Linked DNA regions of Homo sapiens: all the other regions are linked to region 3. The links are contacts of gene promoters, found by promoter capture Hi-C in human tissues and cell types (Jung and others, 2019). All regions are on one chromosome and are shown on one strand. The core of a region is centred on a gene start or on the middle of the fragment in contact, and the rest is flanking DNA. Distances in the headings are between cores, read along the strand shown. Region 1 has its middle 8.1 kb from the start of STK25. Region 2 overlaps SNED1 (sushi, nidogen and EGF like domains 1). Region 3 holds the start of RNPEPL1 (arginyl aminopeptidase like 1).

Region 1 (3,510 bases), core at 1,003-3,502, 950 kb before region 3:
GGTGCTAGGTAAAATACAGAACACACAGTGGAATTTTAATTTCAGATAAACAACGTTTTAATATAAATATTAATATATCCCCTGCTTTTTTTTTTTTTTTTTTTTTTTGAGACAGGGTCTTGCTCTACTCCCCTCGCTGGAGTGGAGCAAGCTCACGGCTCACTGCTGCCTCTACCTTCCAAGCTCAAGTGATCCTCTAACCTCAGCCTCCTGAGTAACTGGGACCACAGGCATGTACAACCACGCCTGGCTAATTTTCTTAATTATTTGTAGAGATGAGATCTTGCTCTGCTGCCCAGGCTGGTCTCACACTTCCGGGCTCAAGCCATCCTTCCACCTCAGCTTCCCAAAGTGCTGGGGTTAGAGGTGTGAGCCACCATGCCTAGCCCTGCCCATTTTTAAATTGGGTTATTTATATTTTTATTATTGCATTGTAAGAACTTTTTAAAATATATATCTTGGATACAAGTCCCTTATCAGACAGATGATTTGCAGATACTTTCTCCCATTTGGTAGGTTGCCTTTTCACTTTCTTGATGGTGTCCTTTGAAGCATACAAGTTTTCAATTTGGTGAATTTGAATTAATCTATTTTTAAATTTTGTCTCTTGTGCATTTGTCATATCTAATAAGCTATTTTATAGTTTTAGCGCTTACATTCAAATTCATGATCCGTTTTTAGTTGATTGGGTCTAACTTCATTCTTTTGCATGTGGATATCCAGTTGTGTGTGTGTGTGTTGGATGTGTGTGTTGGGGTTTGTGTGTTGGGGTGTGTGTACGTGTATGTGTTGTGTATGTTTGTGTGTTGGTGTGGGGTGTTGTGTGTATTAGTGTATTAGTGTGTGTGTTGGGTATGTGTGTTGTGTGTGTGTTGAGGTGTCTACGTGTTGTGTGTTGGGTATGTGTATTGTGTGTGTTGAGGTATCTACGTGTTGTGTGTTGGTGTGTGTGTGTTTTGTGTGTGTTTCGTGTGTGTTGGGTATGTGTATGTTGTATGTGTTGGGGTGTGTGTTGGGTGTTGCGTATGTACATTATGTATGTATTGGGATGTGTGTTGGGTATATGTGTGTGTTGGGCATGTGTGTATTGGGGCTGTGTATTTGTGTGTTGGGCGTGTGTTGTGTGTATTGGGGGTGTATATGTGTGTGTTGTGTATGTTTGTGTGTGTGTTGGGTGTGTGTATATGTCAGGTGTGTGTGTTGGGTATATGTGTGTGTTGGGGTGTGTGTGTTGGTGTTGTGTGTGTTGGGTGTGTGTTTTGTGTATTGGGTGTGTTGTGTTGGGTGTGTTGAGTGTGTATTGGGGGTGTGCATGTGTGTGTTGCGTGTTGGGTATGTGTATGTGTGTTGGGTGTGTGTGTGTGTTGGGGTGTGTGTGTTGGGGGTGTGTGTTGGGTGTGTGTGTGTTGGGTGTGTGTGTGTTGGGGGTGTGTGTTGGGTGTGTGTGTTGGGTGTGCACGTTGTGTGGTGGGGTGTGTGTGTTGGGGGTGTGTGTTGGGTGTGTGTGTGTTGGGTGTGTTTGTGTGTGTGTTGGGGGTGTGTTTGGGGTGTGTGTGTTGGGTGTGTGTTCGGGGTGTGTGTTGGGTGTGTTTGTTGGGGGTGTGTGTGTGTTGGGGGTGTGTTTGTGTTGGGTGTGTGTGTATGTTGTGTATGTGTTGGGATGTGTGTTGGGTATATGTGTTGGGCGTGTGTGTGTGTTGGGTGTGTGTTGTGTGTATTGGGTGTGTTGTGTTGGGTGTGTTGAGTGTGTATTGGGGGTGTGCATGTGTGTTGCGTGTTGGGTATGTGTATGTGTGTGTTGGAGTTGTGTGTGTGTTGGGTATGTGTTGTGTGTGTGTTCAGTGTGTGTGTTGGGTATGTGTGTGTGTTGGGGTGTGTGTGTTGGGTGTGTGTTGGGGTGTGTGTGTTGGGTGTGTGTTGGGGGTGTGTGTTGGGTGTGTGTGTGTTGTGTGCGTGTGTTGGGGGTGTGCGTGTGTTGGGGGTGTGTGTGCTGGGGGTGTGTGTGTTGGGTGTGTGTGTGTGTTGGGTGTGTTTGTGTGTGTGTTGTGGGGGTGTGAGCACAGAGCTTATCTGCCCTCCCTGGGCATGCTGCCCTCCAGCAGCTTGCACATGTTCAGGTATCTGCAAGATCCCAGCACCATTTGTTGAAAAAATTACTCTTCCCCTTTGTTCACTGGCTGGAACAGAGCTAAAACAAAACAATTAAAATAAAGTAATTATTTCCCAACTGAATTGTCTTGGCATACTTTTAAAAAATCAATTGATCATAAGTCTATTTCTGGTAATGAATTTGATTTCATTAATCTACGTATCTTTTTTTGTTTGTTGTTTGAGATGGAGTCTCACTCTGTCACCCAGGCTGGAGTGCAGTGGCACAGTCTCAGCTCACTGCAACCTCCACCTCCCAGGTTCAAAAGATTCTCCCGCTTCAGCTTCCGGAGTAGCTGGGACTACAGGCGCCCGCCACCAGGCCCAGTTAATTTTTTTTTTTTTTCCCGAGACGTAGTCTAGCTCTGTCACCCAGTTTGGAGTGCAATGACACAATCTCAGCTCACTGCAACCTCCGCCTCCTGGGTTCAAGTGATTCTTGTGCCTCAGCCTCCTGAGTAGCTCACATCACAGACGTGTGCCACCATACCCAGCTAATTTTTTGTATTTTTAGTAGAGATGGGGTTTCACTATGTTGGTCAGGCTGGTTTCAAACTCCTGACCTCAAATGATCCGCCCGCCTCGGCCTCCCAGTGTTGGAATTACAGGCATGAGCCACCTTGCCCTGCTGTACTCACTCTTAATTATTATATGGTACATATGTAAACGTCCCGTAGACTTGGAGTTTTAAAACATTCTTTACCCACCGAAGTGTCCTATGCTTTCTTCTCACACCAAAAAAACCTTAGCTTTTGTGGCCAGGCAGCAGTTCATATTGTTGTCTTTGCTCTCGGTGGCTTGAAACTAAAAGTGATTCTGACATTTTCTGAACTAAGACTGAAGTGCAGTTTCCCTTTCTCTTCTCCTACTTCTAGATGCCATTTTTCTATCTTCTTCCTTACTTCTACTTCTACATGGTTAAAGTGGAAAACCTTCACGTTCTATAGAGAATAATTATAAATGTTAAAAATCAACATATGGGAATTACATTATTAAGCCTAAGACATTACTGCTGAGCCTGTGACAGCTATAATTCCCTCATCTTTGTGTTTTCCAAAGATGGCCTCAACATTACCTCCCTCCTCTATGTTTGTCTCACAATGTGAGTTACATGCTTTCCCCCCTTAAATCTGGGTGAGCCATGACGATGGTGGAAGTGGTGCTAACCAGCTGCCAGGTCATTACGAAGCCATGCACTGTGCCAGGTCATTACGAAGCCATGCACTGGCACCTTTTCCTTCCAGAATGCTAGCCTTTGGAATCTCCTGCTGCAGACTCATTTGTGTCTCTTCTACTCCAAAGTTCATATGCTGAAGCCCTAACCGTCAATGTATTTGGAGATAAAGCTTACAAGGAGTTAAT
Region 2 (3,289 bases), core at 1-2,500, 520 kb before region 3:
TCTCTTATGGAGAGACTTTCCACATCCGAAGAGGCAGATGCATGCACTCTGTCATGGCCAACTCAGAGCTCAAGTTCCTGCCATGTGCGGAGCTCCGGCCCAGACCTTTCCCCCAAGGGGGTGTGGACACTCTTCCTTTGGTGTGTGTGAGCCTATATCTGAAAAGCTGTTTTGCTTCTGTTTGTTTTTAAAGGTTCCTGAATGACATTTCTCCTTTATTTTTTTAGGCACGTAACAAAACATAGACCTGTTTTGAAGTGGCTTGTTACCCAAGGGTGCCTCACTCATCTGCGCCACCAGGAAGATGAACTGTGAGGGCTCCTATAAGGGGCAGGAAGAGCAAAGCTGTCCTAGGCCAACCAGAGATTCATCTTTCATGCAGTGACATGTTGATAAAAAATGATGGTCAGTATGAAACTGGTAACAGGTTGTAGATGGCTTTCTATGGTATATCCCAGTCTCTTGCAAACGATTGTGAAGAATGCCAGTGTTGTTTAAGATTCGGCAGTTTGTGTGGGGAGGTGGGGGCAGGATGGGGTTTGGTTGCCAAAAGAGTTTGGGAAATGCTGGCTTAAACAAAGGCGAGAGGAAGTTCCTTTCACGTCAGGATTTATGAATGCCTATGAGCCCAGTGTCAGTGACGACTTTCTAGCGGCGGTCTTCAACACTTTCTAAATATTAAGCGATCAAGGCCCCTGCCCCACTTTTAGTTCCAACAGAATGCCGTTCACAAGATCTGGGAGGCACTCTCTCAGCCCTCTCCTGGAGCCCCCGGAATTTCTCAGCAGCCCAGGCCCTCCCGCTGCCCGTGGCCCCTCCTCCCAGGTGCCAGGTGGTCTTCCAGCCTCTCCAAGGGCCCACCCCCCTGCCTCTTCCTCCCACTGCAGCTGATCTAGGGGTTTCTTGGCCACATTTCCCTTGAGAGAGAGTGGGATTTGCCCTATCCACAGAGAGCCTCATTTCCACCTGAAGGTGTATTTGTCAGTGGCTAGACCAGGTTCATGTCTGTTTCCCCTTGGGGACTTCTGAACCTTCCTGCCCGGGAGTCTGTAACACAGCAGCACAGGACCGCGCTTCCTTTAGCAGTGCTGAGTAAGCAGGCAGCGGCACTCTGAGATCCCGGGGCTGGGCAGTCGCCCCCCACTTCCCAGCAGCTCTGTGGTAGTGGGGCGGGAGCAGCAGGGACGTACCTTAAGATTTCTCCAGTGTCTGACTCTTACTTTGTTTCCTGAAATAATTAGAGAAAAGTCGTTTAATGAAAAAGAGACTGTGTACCTTGAATTCTACAGCTACCTCAGTCCAGGCTGCCTGCTGAGATCCTGTCTTTAGCTCACATACATTCCACGGTGGGGGACACCATTAGTCCAGACACCGCTGTGGAGATTAGCATTTTAGTTTGTGTGCGCCCGCCTGGCTTGAGGCAGTAGTTTAGGAATGACAAGGCTAGAAACCTGGCTGGCTGTGAGTCAGAGAGAGAGAGGATGGACGTGGGAGAAAGCAAGCAAAAGCTACCCTAGGGAAGAGCCGGTGACGTGCACAGGCCGAGCAGCACGGCTGGTGAGCTGCAGGCTGCGGCCTTGCCCGGACACTTGGTAATGCCAAACAAGTACGTGTGGCTACTCATTGGTCTATGAGGACGATGACAGGCTTCGACTCTGTGGTTTCTAAAGCATATAATATTCTCACGTACTTCTTTCAGCAAACGCCAAACAGTAGTAATTCTTGTAACTACCTTGAACCCTTTGTGGAAAGAACCTGGGTGTGAGTGAATAAAAAGTAAAGAGCGACGCGCTATATCGGCCATTAAATACTCGGGGCTGTCCGTAACACCCTGTGCTTCCCAATTGTAGCACCATGTTCTGTGTGAATATGCATAACCAGAGTGACCCCCCCCAGCACCCAGCATGCCCGGCTGTGCCCCTCTGGGTATGCTCACATGCACATATATGGACATACAGTTTCGTAGCAGAACGTGGCTGCCCAGGGGCTGCCTATCTGGGCGAGTAGACCGCCTGGCTCAGCCCACAGGCCTGCAGCATCCCATAGCACCCCGCCCTTGCCCCATCACCCTGTGGGCTACATGCAGGACACGGCATGGGCCTGCTCCCCAGAGGCACCTGTTTGGGGTCTTCTTGAGGCTTGTGCTTTCACAGCTCTCTTTGAAGCAGATGTCTTGGTGAACTCGGTAGACTCTTTTATACCTGTTGTCACAAGAAAGCTTTGTAAAACCAGACAGTGAAGCAAAATGTTGCCAACTGCTTAACCTAGGCTATGTGAACCCACAGTAAACCTGAAGGTGTTTGAGGGAAAAACTGCTATTTTCTGAATGAAACGTGACCTCCTATTGATGTATTAAAATGTCTAACATAAAGGTCATGTGATTTGTAATAAATTTATTGTGGTACAGTAATATGCATAAAATAAACCCATTTTAATGTGCATTCTGATGAGCACTGACAAAGGATATGGTACTAAAAATAAAATGTGAAATGTCAAAGACATGTCAGTGCTAGAGGCAGCCACCTGGCCGGAGGCCTGGGGAAGGTATGGCCTCGCTTTTCTGTTTTTCTGGGTATTTCACAGAGAAGTTTGAGGAGTGTTGGGGATTCGGGATTCGGATGTAGGCATTGTAGAACAGGAGACCCGATTTCATCTCCTGCCTCTTCCATTTATTAACCAGGCTACTTTGAGCAAGTCTCTTCAAGTTTTAAGCCTCGGTTGCAGGTAAAAATGGGACCTACTCATACCATCTCTCTTACAAGTTTGTAGATAATAATGGATGGGAAGGCGTTTTGTCTTTTGTTAAAGTTCTCAAATGTCAGAGCTGTTTAAAAGGGAAATCCAAGGAGTTCAGCAGGCAAAGCTCCAACTCATATGCTAAGTCTCATAGAACCTTTAGGATCGAAAACCTGTGGTAAGACTTCCATTTCTGGACATGAAAGAGTAACAGAATCTGGAATTAACCTCCCAATGTGAACAACCAGAGAACTGGACAAAATATAGTAAGTAACTGTATGTCAGATGTTAGAAAACAGACAACACGAGACTGTAATCCCTGAGAGAGGAGAAACAGATGAGATGAGTCCTGTGGTCAGCCTGGAATTCAGCCTAGAGAAGTTTTTGGATGGCATCACAGAGAAAGGGGATCCAAGCAGTGGTCACACTGAGTTGAGGAAACAGAGATTGAAGTTGGGGAGACAGAGGCAGCTGGAATTTGTGGGGCAGTACTGAAGAGGAGGGAACTATGCAGAGGAGGAACTCCAGAATCTGTGTAGGGTCCCCTTGGGCC
Region 3 (3,601 bases), core at 411-2,910:
TTCTCACCTGTCATACTGGGAGGCATACTTGCCACCGGTCAGAGCCCTGGAATACCACAGCAGGGGCGGGGCCGGCTAGCCAGCGGCCTGCACACCCACAGGGGTTCTGGGAAAAAGGTGAGGTGGCAGGTCCTGCTTAGGGCTCCTGGGAAATGTACAGGAAGCCCATAGGGGTGCACTGGTCTGGGTTCTTCCTGCCCAGATGTCACCTTGGCTCTTTGTGGCCTGAAGCCTCTCGACCACCTCTCCACCACCCTGTCCATTTATGTGCCGTGACCAGTGACAGCTGGACTTCCCAGCGCCTCCACAGCTGTGTGTGTCTTGCATATGTCGGGTGTCACATGTGTGCCGTCCATACCACCTAGGGATGCAGTATGAACCCCCATGCTGTAGGCAGGAAAGGCCCTGCTCCATCCTGTACACATCCCCACTGGTGGAGGTGGAGGGGGTGCTGCAGCCACAGCGCCAGCCTCAGCCACCTGGCCTTTCTTGCAGAGTCTCTGGAGTGGTGGGTACCCAGTGTGCAAGCCCTGCAGAGCCTATGTGTGTCTATGTTGGGGTCGCGGGGCCCACTGGTCTCAACACTCCACCAGTGCTGGCCAAGGAAGCCCCAAACCGAGCATCACAATCTCCATGGCCCTTTCCTCTGCCTCTGGCTTGGACTCATCTGCACGCACTGGTCACATGGAGGCCCTTCCGCAGCTGACACTCCAGCCCAACCCTTGGTGCCAGGATCCTGCAGATGTACACCTCGGTGGGTGACAGAAGCTGCTCATGTCCCCAGGCAGGGACCAGACACCTGAACGGGAGGCTTCCCGGAGTGACATGCTGTCCCGTGTCCCCGCAGGACTCCGGCTTCTATCCGAGGGTCCTAAGGGCTCACAGGCAACAGCTGGGAATCACCGGGGTGGGGGGAGGGGGGCACCTGTAGGGCGCAGATTCGCGTCCCTCAGCCTGGCCGTGCGGCGAGAGGCCGCTAGCAGCGCCCTGCGGACCGGCCCGCAGCCCCGGCGCCCGCCCCGGACTCACGGCGGGGGCGTCGGTCGAGGTGTACCGCAGGATGACCTGGAAGGGCTGGTGCGCCTGCAGCTCGGGCGGCAGCGTGACGGTGAGCGAGGAGCCGTAGTCGGTGAACGGGTCCACCCTGAAGGCCAGCGGACAGCAGGCGGGCTCGGAGCCGGGCGCCTCGGGGAAGGCGGGCAGCGGGGGCGGCGGCGCGGGCCCCGGCCCGGGGGCGGAGAAGGCGAAGGCGCAGGGCGTCTCGGCGGCGGCGGCGGGGGCGCGACGGAAGGCGGCTGAGTGCAGGCGCAGAGCCGGGTGCGCGTCGAGCACGAGCGCGCGGGGCGCGGGCCGCAGCGCGCACAGCTCGAGCACCAGGCAGCCGGCCAACTCGCGCGCCTCGGGCCGCAGCTCCAGGCCCAGCTGCAGGTGGCGGAGGCGGAAGAGCTGCGCGCTGGAGGCCGAGGCCACGTCCAGGGCGGGCGGCGGCTCGGGCGGCGGGCGGACGGGCGCGGCCTCGGCGCCGGGCGCCTGGCGGCAGCAGCACTGCGCGGCCATGGCCGCCGGCACTAGGTGAAATCCATGGGCGGCGGCCGCGCCGGGCCGCGGGCGAGGGGCGCCGGGCGGCGGCGGCGGCGGGGCGCGGGCACAACAGGAAGTCGCGCCGGGAGCCGCCCGGCCCGGCCCCGCGCCGTGCGCCGCCCCGCTCGGGCTCCGCTCGGCCGCCGCCGGGGGCGCTGTGCGCGGGGCCGGGGCGCGGGGCCGGGGCGCCGGGCGGGGAGGGCCAGGAGCCAGGGGCGCGGGGAGCCGGGGAATCGAGCGCGGCGCGGGGCCGGGGCGCTGTGTTGGGAGCCGAGGCGCGCGGAGCGGGTGAGCAGCACCCCCAGCCCCTCGCTTCCTCCCCGGGCGGCGCCCGGGAGATCCCAGGAGGCGGGATCGCTGCTCCCTCCCAGACACTGCCGGCCAGGCCCCTGGGGCAGCCGCTGAAGGGACCCGGGAACCTTGGGGCCACAGGGGCAGGCTGCTTCCAGGTGTGGTTCGTGTTCCCGAGGAGCGCAGCGTCGCGAACTCAATGTCATCCTTTCATCCGGGGCTACGGGCAGGGCAGGATTCTCCTGGCACCCCTGCCACTCCTCCAAGTCTACAGGTGTGGTCTGTGCTGTGGGCCCTGCGGTGCGAGAAGCGCCGGAGCCTTCACGCAGCGCTGTCAACTACAGCAGCCACCAACCACGTGTGGCCATTTAGATGCGAATTAAATACAGTTAGAAGTTCAGTTCCTTCGTGGCAGGTGGAGTGAGTGAGTGTGTGTGTCTTCCTGGGAGGAGTGGCTAATGGACAAAGCAGGCAGGAATCATTTCCACAATCGCAGAAGTTCCTCTGGGCAGTGCTGGGGACCTCTCATTTGGGAGCCCTGTGCTGGGGTACGAAGGAGGGTCTGGCCCGCCTGTCCCCACCCCATCCGCCAGGTCCACCCTTCCCAACGCCATTCTCTGTGGACCTGGCGAAGGCTGCCCAAGGCTGAGCCTGTCCAGGAGCCTGAGCCCCGAGGGAAGGGGTGCTCGCCTGGCAGAAGCTGCTAGTGAGCTCACAGCGGTTAAATTTTGAGGCTGTGGAATAACAGGGGCCACCATGATGTCGCTGTTGTCATCAAGTAAGAATTCAAATTCCTAGGGACAAGGGGCTTCTGGGGCTGGGGAACTATCCAGGAACCCAGGACACCTCTCTCTTCTGCTCCATTGAGGTGTGGCCGTGCAGGGCTGGACTCGGGTACCGCACTCGACTCAGCGTCAGCCCTGAGTAGTGTTTCCTGTGTCTGGACTCAGTCTCCTCGTTGTGTAACCCTCTGTGTCTACCCTCCTTCCGTGGGGCGGGAAGGAAGGCTGAGAGGGAGAGTGTGCGTTCACGTTTGCGGGACAGAGCACTGAGGCATCATTTCAGTTTTCCCGTAGGACCTCAGGTCCCCACGTGCCCTCTTTAGGGACACGGCCACGATCTTGGGGCACCCATCCCAAACTCACCAGGAACCCCTAGGCTTACACAGTCACTCAGAGGTGTGGATCAGCCTCGCATCCAAGGCTGACAGGGAAGACAGCTGAGATGGGACCCTCCTCACTGCCCCCAGCGCCCTGCCCGGTGGGGCCCTGCAGTGCCAAGGGCAGACTGTTTTCGATGGCACCCCCAGTTCTACGGGGCTCTCCAGAGCCCACCGGGCCATGTTCCTGGCTGGAAGAACCTCAGTTCTGCACACGCGGTGCCACACTAGCTGGGCCTGGCCGTCCGGGGGGCAAGTCACCACAGGGAGCTTGGGGTCTTGCCACCCAGAGCCCCGCATTGGGCTCAGGGAGCAGAGGTTGGGGTCTCGCCCTGGGCACCTCTCCGCGGCCAGTTCTGCACACAGGAGTCCAGAGTTGCTGTGGCACCTCCTCCCCGGGGGCCCAAGGGAGCGCCTCCCACCGCGCACGTATGTGAGGAGCTGCCCTACTGCACCCCATGGAGCGGGAGGCGCGGCTGAGCCGAGGGGGCGGGGTCTGCAACTGAGCCGCGGGAGCCTCTCGCGCCGGCCCCGCCCCGCCCCGCCCCGCCCGAGGAGGCCCCGCCCCCG

The links. The method cuts DNA at HindIII sites, captures the fragments that hold promoters and counts their contacts. A contact is called where the count stands out against the background at its distance.
Region 1: a fragment that was not itself captured here is called in contact with the fragment with the promoter of RNPEPL1 in region 3 in 1 of the 25 tissues and cell types used here (dorsolateral prefrontal cortex).
Region 2: a contact is called between a fragment that was not itself captured here and the fragment with the promoter of RNPEPL1 in region 3, in 1 of the 25 tissues and cell types used here (dorsolateral prefrontal cortex).

What each region holds. Positions count from the first base shown.
Region 1 is chr2:241,514,958-241,518,467 of GRCh38, reverse strand. No RefSeq gene overlaps it. Among named protein-coding and RNA genes, the nearest start is that of STK25, 8.1 kb to the right of the region's middle. The HindIII fragment of the contact is 7,266 bases long and covers 1-3,510 here.
Region 2 is chr2:241,086,304-241,089,592 of GRCh38, reverse strand. It overlaps SNED1 (sushi, nidogen and EGF like domains 1), which reads right to left. Exons shown (of 32, transcript NM_001080437.3): 30 at 2,118-2,201; 31 at 1,191-1,228. The coding sequence ends at 1,192. It also overlaps a transcript of MTERF4 not described here. Among named protein-coding and RNA genes, the nearest start is that of MTERF4, 14 kb to the left of the region's middle. The HindIII fragment of the contact is 4,184 bases long and covers 1-3,289 here.
Region 3 is chr2:240,566,543-240,570,143 of GRCh38, reverse strand. RNPEPL1 (arginyl aminopeptidase like 1) reads right to left here and starts at 1,660. Exons shown (of 11, transcript NM_018226.6): 1 at 1,030-1,660. The coding sequence starts at 1,557. RefSeq lists enhancers at 1-574, 524-703, 575-1,213 and silencers at 974-1,023, 1,264-1,453, 1,594-1,653, 1,684-1,943, 3,454-3,601. The HindIII fragment of the contact is 6,553 bases long and covers 1-3,601 here.